Linked DNA regions of Homo sapiens: all the other regions are linked to region 2. Evidence: promoter capture Hi-C in human tissues and cell types (Jung and others, 2019). All regions are on one chromosome and are shown on one strand. Each heading gives the region's core, a stretch centred on a gene start or on the middle of the fragment in contact. The rest is flanking DNA. Distances are from core to core; before and after follow the strand shown. Region 1 overlaps ZFAS1 (ZNFX1 antisense RNA 1). Region 2 holds the start of PTPN1 (protein tyrosine phosphatase non-receptor type 1). Region 3 overlaps CSE1L (chromosome segregation 1 like).

Region 1 (4,030 bases), core at 548-3,047, 1.2 Mb after region 2:
GACGCTAAGAGGGGGTGGGTTTCAGATGTATTTTGAAGGTAGAACCAATAGCATTTGCCAAGGGATTCACATGGTACATGAGGTTGATTCCACAGCTCCTGACCAACTGGACTTCTGGTGTTGCCAATACCTGGGAAGGGAAGATCGCAGGAAGCACAGACTTGCAGGGAATGGGGTTAGGTGAGTGAAGCATCAGGCATTTAGTTTTGGACATGTTAAGTCAAATGCACAAATAAGTCTGAAAATGTAGGCTGGGGCCAGACATAAACGCTTCAAATGCTACGTGGAGAAATTGAAGTAGCATCAGTTGACTTAGGTAATGGAGATGCCCATGTCAGGACCTTTAGAGTGGGCATTATAGAGTTGTGAATTTACTGCTTTGTAGCAAGTTATCTCAAAACCTAGTGGCTTGAAATACATTTCCCATAGGTCAGAAATCCAAGCACAATCTGGGTGGGTCCGCTCTCAGGGTTTCTCACAAGCCTCCGCTACAGAAAGACGTGCTTACAAACTCACATGGTTGTTGGGTAACTCCTCCCACACTAATGGTTCAACCTCAGTTGATTGCTACGCTGGCCTCTCCCAACATGGCAGCTTAATTAAAAGTGAGCAAGCTAGGCCAGGCGTGGTGGCTCACGCCTGTAATTCCAACACTTTGGGAGGCTTGACGCAGGCAGATCACTTGAGGTCAGGAGTTCAAGACCAGCCTGGCCAACATGGTGAACCCCCTCTACTAAATATACAAAAATTAGCCAGGCGTGGTAATCCAAGCTACTCGGGAGGGTGAGGCAGGAGAATTTGCTTAAACCCAGGGGACGGAGGTTGCAGTGAGCTGAGATCTCAAAAAAAAAAAAAAAAAGTGAGCAAGCCAAGGAGAATGAGAAAAAGAGCTAGCAAGTCTCAGAAGTTACACTAGGTCCAGCCTAGTCAAGGGGAGGGGATTCTGAGTCAATACCAGGAGTCATTTTAGAAATCTAGAGGTCCCAGGCTGGGCGCAGTGGCTCATGCCTGTTATCCCAGCACTTTGGGAGGCCGAAGTGGGCAGATCACAAGGTCAGGAGATCAAGACCATCCTGGCTAAAACAGCGAAAACCCGTCTCTACTAAAAATACAAAAAATTAGCCGGGCGTGGTGACGGGCACCTGTAGTCCCAGCTACTTGGGAGGCTGAGGCAGGAGAATGTGAACCCAGGAAGCAGAGCTCGCAGTGAGCTGAGATCATGCCACTGCACTCCAGCCTGGGTGACACAGCGAGACTCTGCCTCAGAAAAAAAAAAGAAATCTAGAGGTCCCATCTTTGAGGTGAGATTTTAAGATACTTAAAAAATTATTCACTGTGTATTTTAAATAAAAAATCATCACATATTGATAAATGATGCAGCCTATTTTTGCAATTTCCTATGAAGTTTATAAACAAATACCATAGCCCACATCATCCTTACTCATCTCATGCAACCATTAAGGCCTAATACCCACGATTTAACATACACGATCTTGTGCAGGTGTAAGCATACAAGTGAGATACCTCTGTATTGACCCTCTGCTTTGAATTCTGGCCCAAGTGTGCTTGCTTATTCTTAGGTTTCCAATGCAGAAGCCAATCACGAGGCACAATACCTGTGGAAAGCAGGCTTTGCCCACAGAAACCAACTGCCCACTAGGGTGATTCTCCCCTCAAAAAACTAAAACCAAATGAAACTGCAAATACCTAACTACTACTTGTTATCCCTGTTCAATGGTTATCTCCAATGGCCAAACAAAACAGCATTTTGATTTAAAAGATTTTATTTTCTTTATGCAGGTAGGCAGTTAGAAATTTCAAAGTCTAACAATGACATTCTTGAAGTGGGCACAGCCTTTTAAACTCAGGCTATGTATACAGTAACCTTGTGGAACTGGTTCAGCCAGATCTTCACTTTCATGAAAGCACAGGGTCTGTCCTTTTCTTTCCAGAGGGCTCCTCTCATATTCCATCGCCAGTTTCTAAGAAAGAAGGTGGATTACAATCAGTGCTCCATTCTGGTCTATACCGCTTCTTGTTTAGGGTATGAAAATACATGTGACTAAGACCTGGTCACTCCAAGTCCATCCCCTTTATCGGTACGGCCAAGTACCGATAAACGGAGCTGGGAAACTTCCCAATCTCTAATAAGACAACTTTAATTCTGTACTTTTATTGAATCCCATATTGTACCTGCGTTGGCAAAATGTTTAACCTTCATCTAAAAATGACTTCATGTCACAGTAAACACAGAAGACAAAAACCCAGAATGAGGACACTACCAGTAAAAATCTTTTAAAGGATGAGAAGCTGAGCAGTGGGGGGTATGGCTGTAGTTGCAGCTACTGAGGATATTGAGGGTGGGAGTTTCCCTTGAAGCCATGAGTTTCAAGCAATCATGCCTGTGAATAGCTACTACACTCCAGCCTGGGTCACGTAGCAAGGCTGCAACTCTACAAAATATGAAAACATTAGCCAGGGATGGCAGTGTGTGCTTTCAGTCCCATCTACTTGGGAGGCTGAGGCAGGAGGATCATGGATGCAGTAAGCCATGACTGCACCACTGCACTCCAGCCTGGGTGACAGAGCAAGACCCCATTCTCTTAAAAACAGAAATTGGGATACCTGTATGTTCATTCAAGAAATAACCCAAGTAATGTGTATTAAAGACATTTTAGGGGCAAATAAGGATACTTGAATAAAGTTATACCAGGCTTAGGATCTATTTAACATCTTAGACGTAAGGGTCATTGTTATATGCAAGATGTCTTATTACATGAATGTTGGACTTTAAGAACTATGCACATTCACACATCCAAAAACAAAATACTTCTAAGATGAGTCATCACTGACTGACATGAACTACAATTTTTGAGGTTTTGGTTTTTTAATATAAAAGTTGGAGAATTATGAGGAGCCACATCTATGATGGCAAAAACACTATACTCAAAAGGTGTAAGAAAACTCAGTTTGCTTATTCCCCTTCCATTGATTAAGGACACCAGGCAAACTGGAGGATGATGCAACACAGTTATTTGGTAAAAAAGCTTCCCTGTGTTAGCTCAATTTATTGAGGGATTGTAAAGGTCAGCAGAAGGAAAGCATACAATCATGGTCTCAGGCCACAGTATGCTTATCTGCTGTAAAGTCCAGCCATGTGACCAGACATGGAGGTAGTGTCCCCAAGGGACACAGAAAAGGAGTGGTGTTACTTTCTCTTTAAAGGGGGTGGAAGGTATAGACTTCAAACATCCATCTCTGCTATGTCTTTCTCTCCTGGGTTTGCTTATAGACAAAGCTGCCATGTTAACAGGCCCATGTAACAAGGAGCTGAGGATGGCTCATGGTAGTAGTATGATGAATCTTATAACTGAACCTCACAAGAATTAAGTAAAATCAATTGACTCCCAACTTAAATATGATTTGGAGCTCCTTATCTTACTAAGTGAATTGGCCAAGGAAAATTAGCTCCACCCAATGTTCAATCACTTTGTCATCCTTTCTTACAAGACTGTTAGGTATGATGGGTTTCTCTTCAAAGTTTAACTTCCTTGTTCTTTGTTCTTAAGGTCAACTTCCTCATACCTTCCCACTCCTAATTACCCATTCTGTAAACATTTCTCCCACCAATCCCAACCTGTAACCCGCATTTGTTCCTTATCTGGAAAAGTCTCCCTCGCTCGTGGCAACTGCTCTTCCCACTGCTGTAACCCACACCCCTCCTGTTTAAAATAGCCAATCAGGACTAGTTTAGATTGGACTCTAGCCAATGGGGATAGAACACAGAAGCAGGAACTAGCTGTGTTAGGGATAAAAACCACTTCACCTCCTTTGTTCGGGGTGCTCTCACTGTGACCAGGAGTGCAAGCAGCACCATTCTGCAGAAGTAAATCTGCCTTGCTGAGAAATCTTTTGGAGATCATTTTCTTTGCAACTCTGAGCTCTTATTGCCAACAATTTGGGAGCTCATCTGGGATTACCGTTCTCCTTCAGGAGAAGCCCACGATCACCTCTCTTGAGGAGAGGCATC
Region 2 (4,352 bases), core at 272-2,771:
TAGATTTTAATACTACAGCTGATGGATCTCACAATTTGCCTTTTGAGCCTATAAGCTGAAAACAGAATCATCTGCTGTCTCCCTTTACACAAGTAACAAAATCTCTCTATTCTGTATATCGCTTATTTAAGATACTGTGCAAGTGTGGTTTTAGTTAATCTTAACAACCCCCGCAATGACATTTAATTGGGAGTATGTATCTTATTCAGCTGCTTGTGAAAGGAAGAGCTCTTTGTGTTTTTAACTACTTGTTTTATAGATATATGAGAAACCCTCCTTTCCTAACTTTTTAACACACAAGGAGATGACTCCTAAGACAAGGTCATCTCTGCCACGACCAAAGACTAAGCTGCTCATTGAGGAAAGATGCTATTTTAGAGAGGGTTAAAACGTTAACCTTCCTGAGTCCCTGCCTGAAAGAATAATATCATGGCCCCAATGGAGTGGGTACCGCAGGCCTCCTGGCTAGAAGGTTCTTTAGCCCCATATTCTCACGGCTTTCTGCTCCTCTTGGTTCAGCTCACAAAGCAAATGTCTCCTCCTTTGACAGGCCTTCCCTGATCCCCTTCTCTAAGACAGCCGGCCTTCTATGCAGTCACCCTGTACCCCGTTAGGAAGTCGTTCTCTTCACAGCACCTGTCACTATCTGAAATTATTTGCTTTTGTGTTTGATTGCCCTATTCGACTCTAGGCCCCACTAAGGCTAGGATCTTGCCTGTCCTGATTAGCAAACACCACCTCCAATGCCTAAGCGGTGCCTAGCACAGAATAAGCTTGCCAACTCCTATCCAATAAATGAATGAACAGAAAGGGGAAAGGGGACTGTCATCTCTGGGACTCGACGCACACTGAGACTAGGGGAAAGGAAATGTGAAGGAGGGACGGGGGGAGTAACCTTTTCCCCCAGGGAGACAAAGGAAGAGAGTCTGAGGTGGTCCACTCCAGAAAAGGAAATAGTGGGGGTGCTAAATCACCCCAGGGGACAAAGAGTGGACAGGCAGGGGGCGGGGTCGGGGTGCGAGGGATTCGCGTTGAGAGCACAGACCGGCGGTCCCCCGGCTTGAGAGATCACCCGAGCTGGAGAACAGAAGGGAGGTGGGGGATCGAAGGGGGCTCCGACGCTGCGGCGAGAAACACGCCCGCCCCGGGGACAAAGGGTGGGGGGACGCAGTGCGTCGCTGTCCCATCGAATCCTCAAGCAGTAGGAGCGAGGCAGAGGGCAAGACCCAGAGGGAGTCTGGGGCCTGGAGGTCTGAGGGGATGTTCAAGCGGCCTAAGCGAAGGGCCCGCCACGCTCCGGGGCGCTCCCGCACCTGGTAAATGGCCGCCCAGCTCCCGGACTTGTCGATCTGCTCGAACTCCTTTTCCATCTCCATGACGGGCCAGGGCGGCTGCTGCGCCTCCTTCTCGGCCCACTGCGCCGTCTGCCGCTCTAGGCCGCGTCGCGCTCTTAGCCCCGAGGCCCGCTGCAATCCCCGACCCCTGCAGCTACCGCCGCCCTAGCCGCTGCTGCTTCTTCATGTCAACCGGCAGCCGGAACTACGCATCACGCCTGCCAGGGGCTCCGCCCCTGAAGCAGAAGGACCAATCAGCGATCGAGAATTTCGACAAGCACTTCCGCGGGGAGGAGCCGGGGGCGGTGCTAGGGGAAGTGGCCCCAGCACCGCGAGATATCTAATAGCGCGCGTTCCCTCCTCCGCTTTGGGGCTCTGGGCTCGGGCGCGGCGCGCGCCTGTTGCCTAGGCGACCCCGGGAGCCCCGCCCACGGCGCGTGGGCTCTCCAGGCCCGGGAGGGCATTGAGTTCCAGCCCCGACCCGGCCCGTTGAGTCACAGAGTGAGTGGCCTTAAAGTAGTCATGCACCTCCTTTCCTGCAGGGCCTGGGCCCCAGCCTCAGTAATCCAAGCTGGAGTATGGGAGGAGGGCACCGTGCTCTATTTCCTGCCTCCCAGCTCTGGCCAGATGTCTGCCCTTTTTTCATGAAACTCAGGAGTATCATGTTTCACTACGCTGCTGGGGAAGCCCACTGCTCTCTAAGGGTAGTGTCCCTGTCTGAAACGCAGAATTTCCACTTGGGTGCTGCAGGAATGAATGGATGGGGATGGAATGATTTTCAGTGTTTCCCGAAGTATCAAGGAACTCCTGCTCAGACTGAACTAAGCAGAGCACAAATTCCATGGTGCATTATGTTAAATAAAAATCATAGGAGCCCAGGCGCGGTGGCTTACATCTGTAATCCCAGCACTTTGGGAGGCAGAGGCAGGCGGATGTCTTGAGGCCAGGAGTTCCAGACCAGCCTGGGTAACAGAATCAGACCTCGTCACTACTAAAAGTTAAAAAATTAGCCGGTGTGGTGGGGCCCAGCTGCTGGGGAGGCTGAGGCAGGAAGATCACCTGAGCCCAGGAGGTGGAAGCTGCAGTGAGCTGTTTTGGCGCCACTGCACTCCACCTTGGGTGGCAGAGAGAGACCCTGTCTTGAAAAAAAAGGGCTGGGTGTGGTGGCTCACACCTGTAATCCCAGCACTTTGGGAGACCGACGCAGGTGGATCACCTGAGGTCAAGAGTCCGAGACCAGCCTGACCAACATGGTGAAACTCGGTTTCTGCTAAAAAAAAAAAAAAAAAAAAAAATTAGCCGGGCGTGGTGGCGCATGCCTGTAATCCCAGCTACTTGGGAGGCTGAGGCAGGAGAATCGCTTGAACCCTGGAGGCAGAGGTTGCAGTGAGCCAAGATAGCTCCACTGCACTCCAGCCTGGGCAACAAGAGCGAAACAAACAAACAAAAAAAGTTCTGGCATTAGGGTCTCAACAGACTAGACTAAAAATCAAAATGGAGTCACTCATGCTAAAGTTCTACATCATCAGACTGATAACCTTTCACAAAATCAGAAGAGAGATACACACCCTGATTTCCCAAGCAGACCGTTTTAATCAACATAATGAAGTTCCCTTTGCTTTAATCCTTACAACAAAAAGTAACCTGAAGTAACCCGATGCGACCAATCAGTTATTTCTCTCTTGTTCTGTTTCCCTGTTCCTGCCTTACAAGGAAAGTAACTTTGAAATGACCAATCTGCTTTTTGTTCTTTGTTTCTGCTTTTTTCAGCCCTTTTCTGTCTATAAAACCAACCTCCTCTGCTCAGCTCATTGGGACACTTGTGCTATTTTGAGGAATGAAGTCTTGCCCGATTCTAGAATCATGAATGAAGCCAATTAAGATGTTTAAGTTTGTTGTAATTTTGTCTTTTGACATTTACGGTCACCTGGGAAGTGTGTTGAATAATGCAGGTTCCTGGACCCATCGCCAAATGATTCAGATATCTTTGGTCTAGGGATGAGACCCGGAATCTGCATTTTCACCAACAACTCCAGCTGATTCTCGTACCTATGATCCTTAAAGCACCCATGAGCAGGTTGGTCAGGTTGCCTTCCTGCAGGCTCCAGTTTAAACCATCCCCCTCTGGGCCTGGCATGTCATGTGGACGTTGTGAATTCCAGGAGGTTTGAAAACCTGGAAGAGAGAATTGTCTTCATTCCGTGTTGCCCAGAGACACTGCCTGGTATTATCAGCTGAACTCCAGCTCATTCCTTGAGTGCTTGTGGCAGGCACTATGCCTGGAATTCTAAGTACACATTCCCATTCAATCTCCACAACAACCCTTCAATACAGGTGCTATTATTCCCATTTTATAAACGAGAAAACTGACTGGCTGTGGTGGCTCACGCCTGTAATCCCACCACTTTGGGAGGCCGTGGTGGGTGCATCACTTGAGGTCAGGAATTCGAGACCAGCCTGACAAGCATGGTGAAACCTCAACTCTACTAAAAATACAAAAATTAGCAGGGTGTGGTGGTGCATGCCTGTAATCCCAGCTACTCGGCAGGCTGAGGCACAAGAATCACTTCAACCTGGGAGGCAGAGGCTGCAGTGAGCTGAGATTGCACCACTGCACTCCAGCCTGGGCAACAGAGCAAGATCCTGTCTCAAAAAAAAAAAAAAAAATTAGCCGGCTGTGGTGGCGTGCACCTGTAGTCCCAGGTACTCAGGAGGCTGAGATGGGAGAATCACTTGAGCCTGGGAGATTGAGGCTGCAGTGAGCCATGATCATGTCACTGCACTCCAGCCTGGACGATAGAGTGAGACACTGTCTCAAAAAAAATAAATAAATAAAAATAGGCCAGGCCTGGTGGCTCACACCTGTAATCCTAGCACTTTGGGAGGCTGAGGCAGGTGGATCACCTAAGGTCAGGAGTTCAAGACCAGCCTGGCCAACATGGTGAAAGCCTGTCTCTACTAAAAACACAGAAAATAGATGGGTGTGGTGGTGCACACCTGTAATCCCAGCTAATTGGG
Region 3 (4,013 bases), core at 1,015-3,514, 1.4 Mb after region 2:
ATCAAATATATATATATAAAAAAAAATCAAAAAAAGAGAAAAGATTAGGTTATTTGTGGGTCTACAGGGCCTCACTTTTCTTATCTATTAAGTGGATTATATATGTTACATTAAACTTATATAATGCTTCAGTTTTCAAATAACTTTACCATCAATTAACTCACATGATTCTCACAAACCTATACAGTGGCCTAATTGGATGATCATCTCATCTGCAAGAGAAGCTGCTTCCCAGGCAGATTAAGTGGCTTCAAGACTTCATATACCCAGGTCTTATTTCAGAAAGGAGTATTATTAGTACTATTAGTAGTAATATTTCTTTTATAGGCTAGTGATGAAGAGCAAATGAGTCAATTCATCCTAATATATTATTATTAGCCAAATGGGTCCAACGATTTACATATATATTATATATGTAAAATTATAAAATTTCATTTAGTTGTCACTATTACCCAGAAAAGTAGATAGCATTTAAAAAACCAAGGCACTAAGGTTAAGTAACTTGTTCAAGATCACACAGCTAGGCTTCACTACTGAAAGTTTTAGTGCAGTCCTTATTTTACCTTACCAGCCCTAAGCTTTCTTGTCGAACTAAAAAAAAACCTAAAAACTTCTTAATACCAGCAATGAATTTATCCAAAAAATTTACCAATAGATTTTCAACCCAGATTACATTCTGGGATAAATTTCCTAGGTTAATGATCACATGTGATGGCAGTACAGTATTTCTCTTAATTTTTTTCTACCTTTGGCTTCATAGGGCAACACCCAATATTCCAATATTTTTTGAAAAATTAATTTCATGTATCATTTAACACCTTCCCTCTTTCTGACTGAGTCCCAAGAGTTTCACTGATATTTTCAAACTCTCCTTGCTTTGTGCTTATCATGTCTTTCTTGAAGGATGAAGATTGTTAAACTGAAAAATGTTTTTCAGGAGGGGACATACTATGGTTTTATATGAGTACAGAACAATTTGTTTCCTCCACTTAGTAGCCAGCATTTTGTACAGGGCAACACACTACATCCATGATTTGAGGAAAAGCCCATATAAATTGCCAAGTCTCTTTCCTAAATTGTAATCAATATCCAGGAAGTGAGTTTGAGTCTGTTCCTTTCTGTGTTCATTTCTTTCAACTTATCACAATATTCACATGCATATGTTTCTGCGCACTCAAGGAGTCTCAAAAGGTCTAGTTGAGTCAGTCTAGTCAGTCAGTCTCGATCCCTGAGAAATGCTATGTTCCTAACTTCCCAGAAATACCAGATTATTTTTATACTCTGTCCTGAATACATAAAGCAACAGAACTCTTGCCTCACACATTATTAAAAAAAAAATAATTGCCGGGTGCGGTGGCTCACACCTGTAATCCCAGCACTATGGGAGGCCGAGACGAGTGGATCACAAGGTCAGGAAATCGAGACCATCCTGACTAACCTGGTGAAACACCCGTCTCTACTAAAAATACAAAAAATTAGCCGGGTGTGGTGGCGGGCGCCTGTAGTCCCAGCTACTCGGGAGGCTGAGGCACAACAATGGGGTGAACCCGGGAGGTGGAGCTTGCAGTGAGCCAAGATGGCGCCACTGCACTCCAGCCTGGGCAAGAGTGAGACTCTGTCTCAAAAATAAATAAATAAATAAATAAATAAATAAATAATAATAATAATTTTTCCACCGGGCACGGTGGCTCATGCCTGTAATCCCAGCACTTTGGGAGGCTGAGGCGGGTGGATCACGAGGTCAGGAGATGGAGACCATCCTGGCTAACACGGTGAAACCCTGTCTCTACTAAAAATACAAATAATTAGGTAGGCATGGTGGCGGGCGCCTGTAGTCCCAGCTACTCAGGAGGCTGAGGCAGGAGAATGGCGTGGACCCGGGAGGCGGAGCTTGCAGTGAGCCAAGATGGCGCCACTGCACTCTAGCCTGGGCGACAGAGGGAGACTCCGTCTCCAAAAAAAAAAAAAAAAAAAAAATTTTTAATAGTGTTGGCAACAGCTTTCTTTGAAAGTCTAAGAAGATTAAAGATTAGAGCCATTAACTTCCCTTTATCCAGGAACACATTACTTCTTTATACACTAATAAACTAATTTTTCCTCTCAAAAATCACAAAGACTTTTCTAGAAGAGGATAGATGCATTAACATGTTCATGATTCTAGTCATCATACATAATATATAACACACATTCTCTTCCTCATGGAACCCTTCCAACATCCTCTATGAGCATGCACATTGGTAAGTTTTGAAGAAACAGGTCAAGAGCATTTTAATATGGCCCATATCAAGGATCAATAACTGACTGCTCACAAGATATATCTGGCCCAGAAGTAGTTTGGCTTGCACTGTATTTCAATTTTTTTTTTTTTTGAGACAAAGTCTCACTCTGTCACCTAGGCTGGAGTGCAGTTGGGCAATCTTGGCTCACTGGAACCTTCACCTCCTGGGTTCAAGCGATTCTTGCACCTCAGCCTCCCAAGTAGCTGGGGTTACAGGCACATGCTACCATGCCTGGCTAATGTTTGTATTTTTAGTAAAGACAGGGTTTCACCATGTTGGCCAGGCTGGTCTCAAACTCCTGACCTCAGGTGATCTGCCCTCCTGGGCTTCCCAAAGTGCTGGGATTACAGGCGTGAGCAAATGTGCCTGTCCAATTTTTTTTTTTCTTTTGAGACGGAGTCTTGCTCTGTCACCAGGCTGGAGTGCAGTGGCCTCGGTTAACTGCAACCTCCGCTTCCTGGATTCAAGCAATTCTCCTGCCTCAGCCTCCCAAGTATCTGGGACTACAGCCGTGCACCACCACGCCCAGCTAATTTTTGTATTTTTAGTAGAGACAGGGTTTCACCACATTGGCCAGGATGGTCTAGATCTCTTGACCTCATGATCCGCCTGCCTTGGCTTCCCAAAATGCTGGGATTACAGGCGTGAGCAAATGCACCTGGCCTTTTTTTTTTTTTTTTTAAGACAAGATTTCCCTCTGTCACCCAGGCTAGAGTGCACTGACATGATCATAACTCACTGCAGCTCCGACCTCTTGGGTATAAGTGAAGCTTTTGTCTCAGCCTCCCCAGTTGCTAGGAATACAGGCACACATCACCACACTTGGCTAATTTTTAAATTTTTTGTAGAGACAGGGTCTTGCTTTGTTGCCCAGGCTGGTCTCGAACTCCTGGACTCAAGGGATCTTCCTGCCTTGGCCTCCCAAATTACTGGGATTAAAGGCGTGACCACCAACCCTGGCTGTGTTTCAAAATATTTTTTTTTTTGGGACTACGTCTCGCTCTGTCACCCAGGCTGGAGTGCAGTGGCGCAATCTCAACTCACTGCAACCTCCACCTCCCAGGTTCAAGCAATTCTCCTGCCTCAGCCTCTTGAGCAGCTGGGACTACAGGTGTGTGCCACCACACCCAGCTAAGTTTTTGTATTTTTTAGTAGAGAAGGGGTTTCACCATATTAGCCACGATGGTCTCGATCTCCTGCCCTCGTGATCTGCCCACCTCGGCCTCCCAAAGTGCTGGGATTACAAGCGTGAGCCACCGCACCCGGCCCCAAAATCTTTTGAAGTTACTTGCTAACATTTAAAAATGAGGGCACTTCATATAAATATCCTTATTTTTCAAGCAAAACTGGAAATCTGATCTTGCAAAACTAGTCTGAATCCCCAAAATTAGCTAGTTCCAAAAAGTACTTGCCACTTAATCAGGGCATGTATTCTCCTGATATTACCAGTCTCCACTTGGCCTATCTCCCTCATTTAACTTAACAGCTGAGTCCTGTGAACACCTGAGTTCAATATTTTAATTCTACGTTTTTAATGGAATCTGGTCAGATTCAGGAAGGAAAAAAAAAGCTCTAGGTCTTAAAATATATTAGTTAAATCAAACCCAATAGAAAATTAAAATTAAGAGACAGTAACTGATTACTTGGCTTCATTCACTTAATCACTTTTTAGGCAATTACTCTCCTTTCTATGCCCTAATTATTTTATCTCTAAAGCAGGCTTTTTTTTTTTTT

What was found. Contacts are between HindIII fragments. The study calls those that stand out against the background at their distance.
Region 1: a fragment that was not itself captured here is called in contact with the fragment with the promoter of PTPN1 in region 2 in 1 of the 25 tissues and cell types used here (spleen).
Region 3: a fragment that was not itself captured here is called in contact with the fragment with the promoter of PTPN1 in region 2 in 1 of the 25 tissues and cell types used here (spleen).

The regions. Positions count from the first base shown.
Region 1 is chr20:49,286,997-49,291,026 of GRCh38, reverse strand. ZFAS1 (ZNFX1 antisense RNA 1) reads right to left here. Exons shown (of 4, transcript NR_036658.2): 4 at 1,767-1,982. Among named protein-coding and RNA genes, the nearest start is that of SNORD12, 8.3 kb to the right of the region's middle. RefSeq lists enhancers at 581-690, 2,860-3,791, 3,792-4,030. The HindIII fragment of the contact is 4,845 bases long and covers 1-4,030 here.
Region 2 is chr20:50,507,552-50,511,903 of GRCh38, reverse strand. It overlaps PTPN1 (protein tyrosine phosphatase non-receptor type 1), which reads right to left and starts at 1,521. Exons shown (of 10, transcript NM_002827.4): 1 at 1,314-1,521. The coding sequence starts at 1,376. RefSeq lists enhancers at 1,448-1,547, 1,760-2,347 and a silencer at 1,658-1,887. The HindIII fragment of the contact is 10,222 bases long and covers 332-4,352 here.
Region 3 is chr20:49,059,132-49,063,144 of GRCh38, reverse strand. All of the region lies in intron 2 of CSE1L (chromosome segregation 1 like), which reads right to left. Among named protein-coding and RNA genes, the nearest start is that of CSE1L, 15 kb to the right of the region's middle. The HindIII fragment of the contact is 4,419 bases long and covers 55-4,013 here.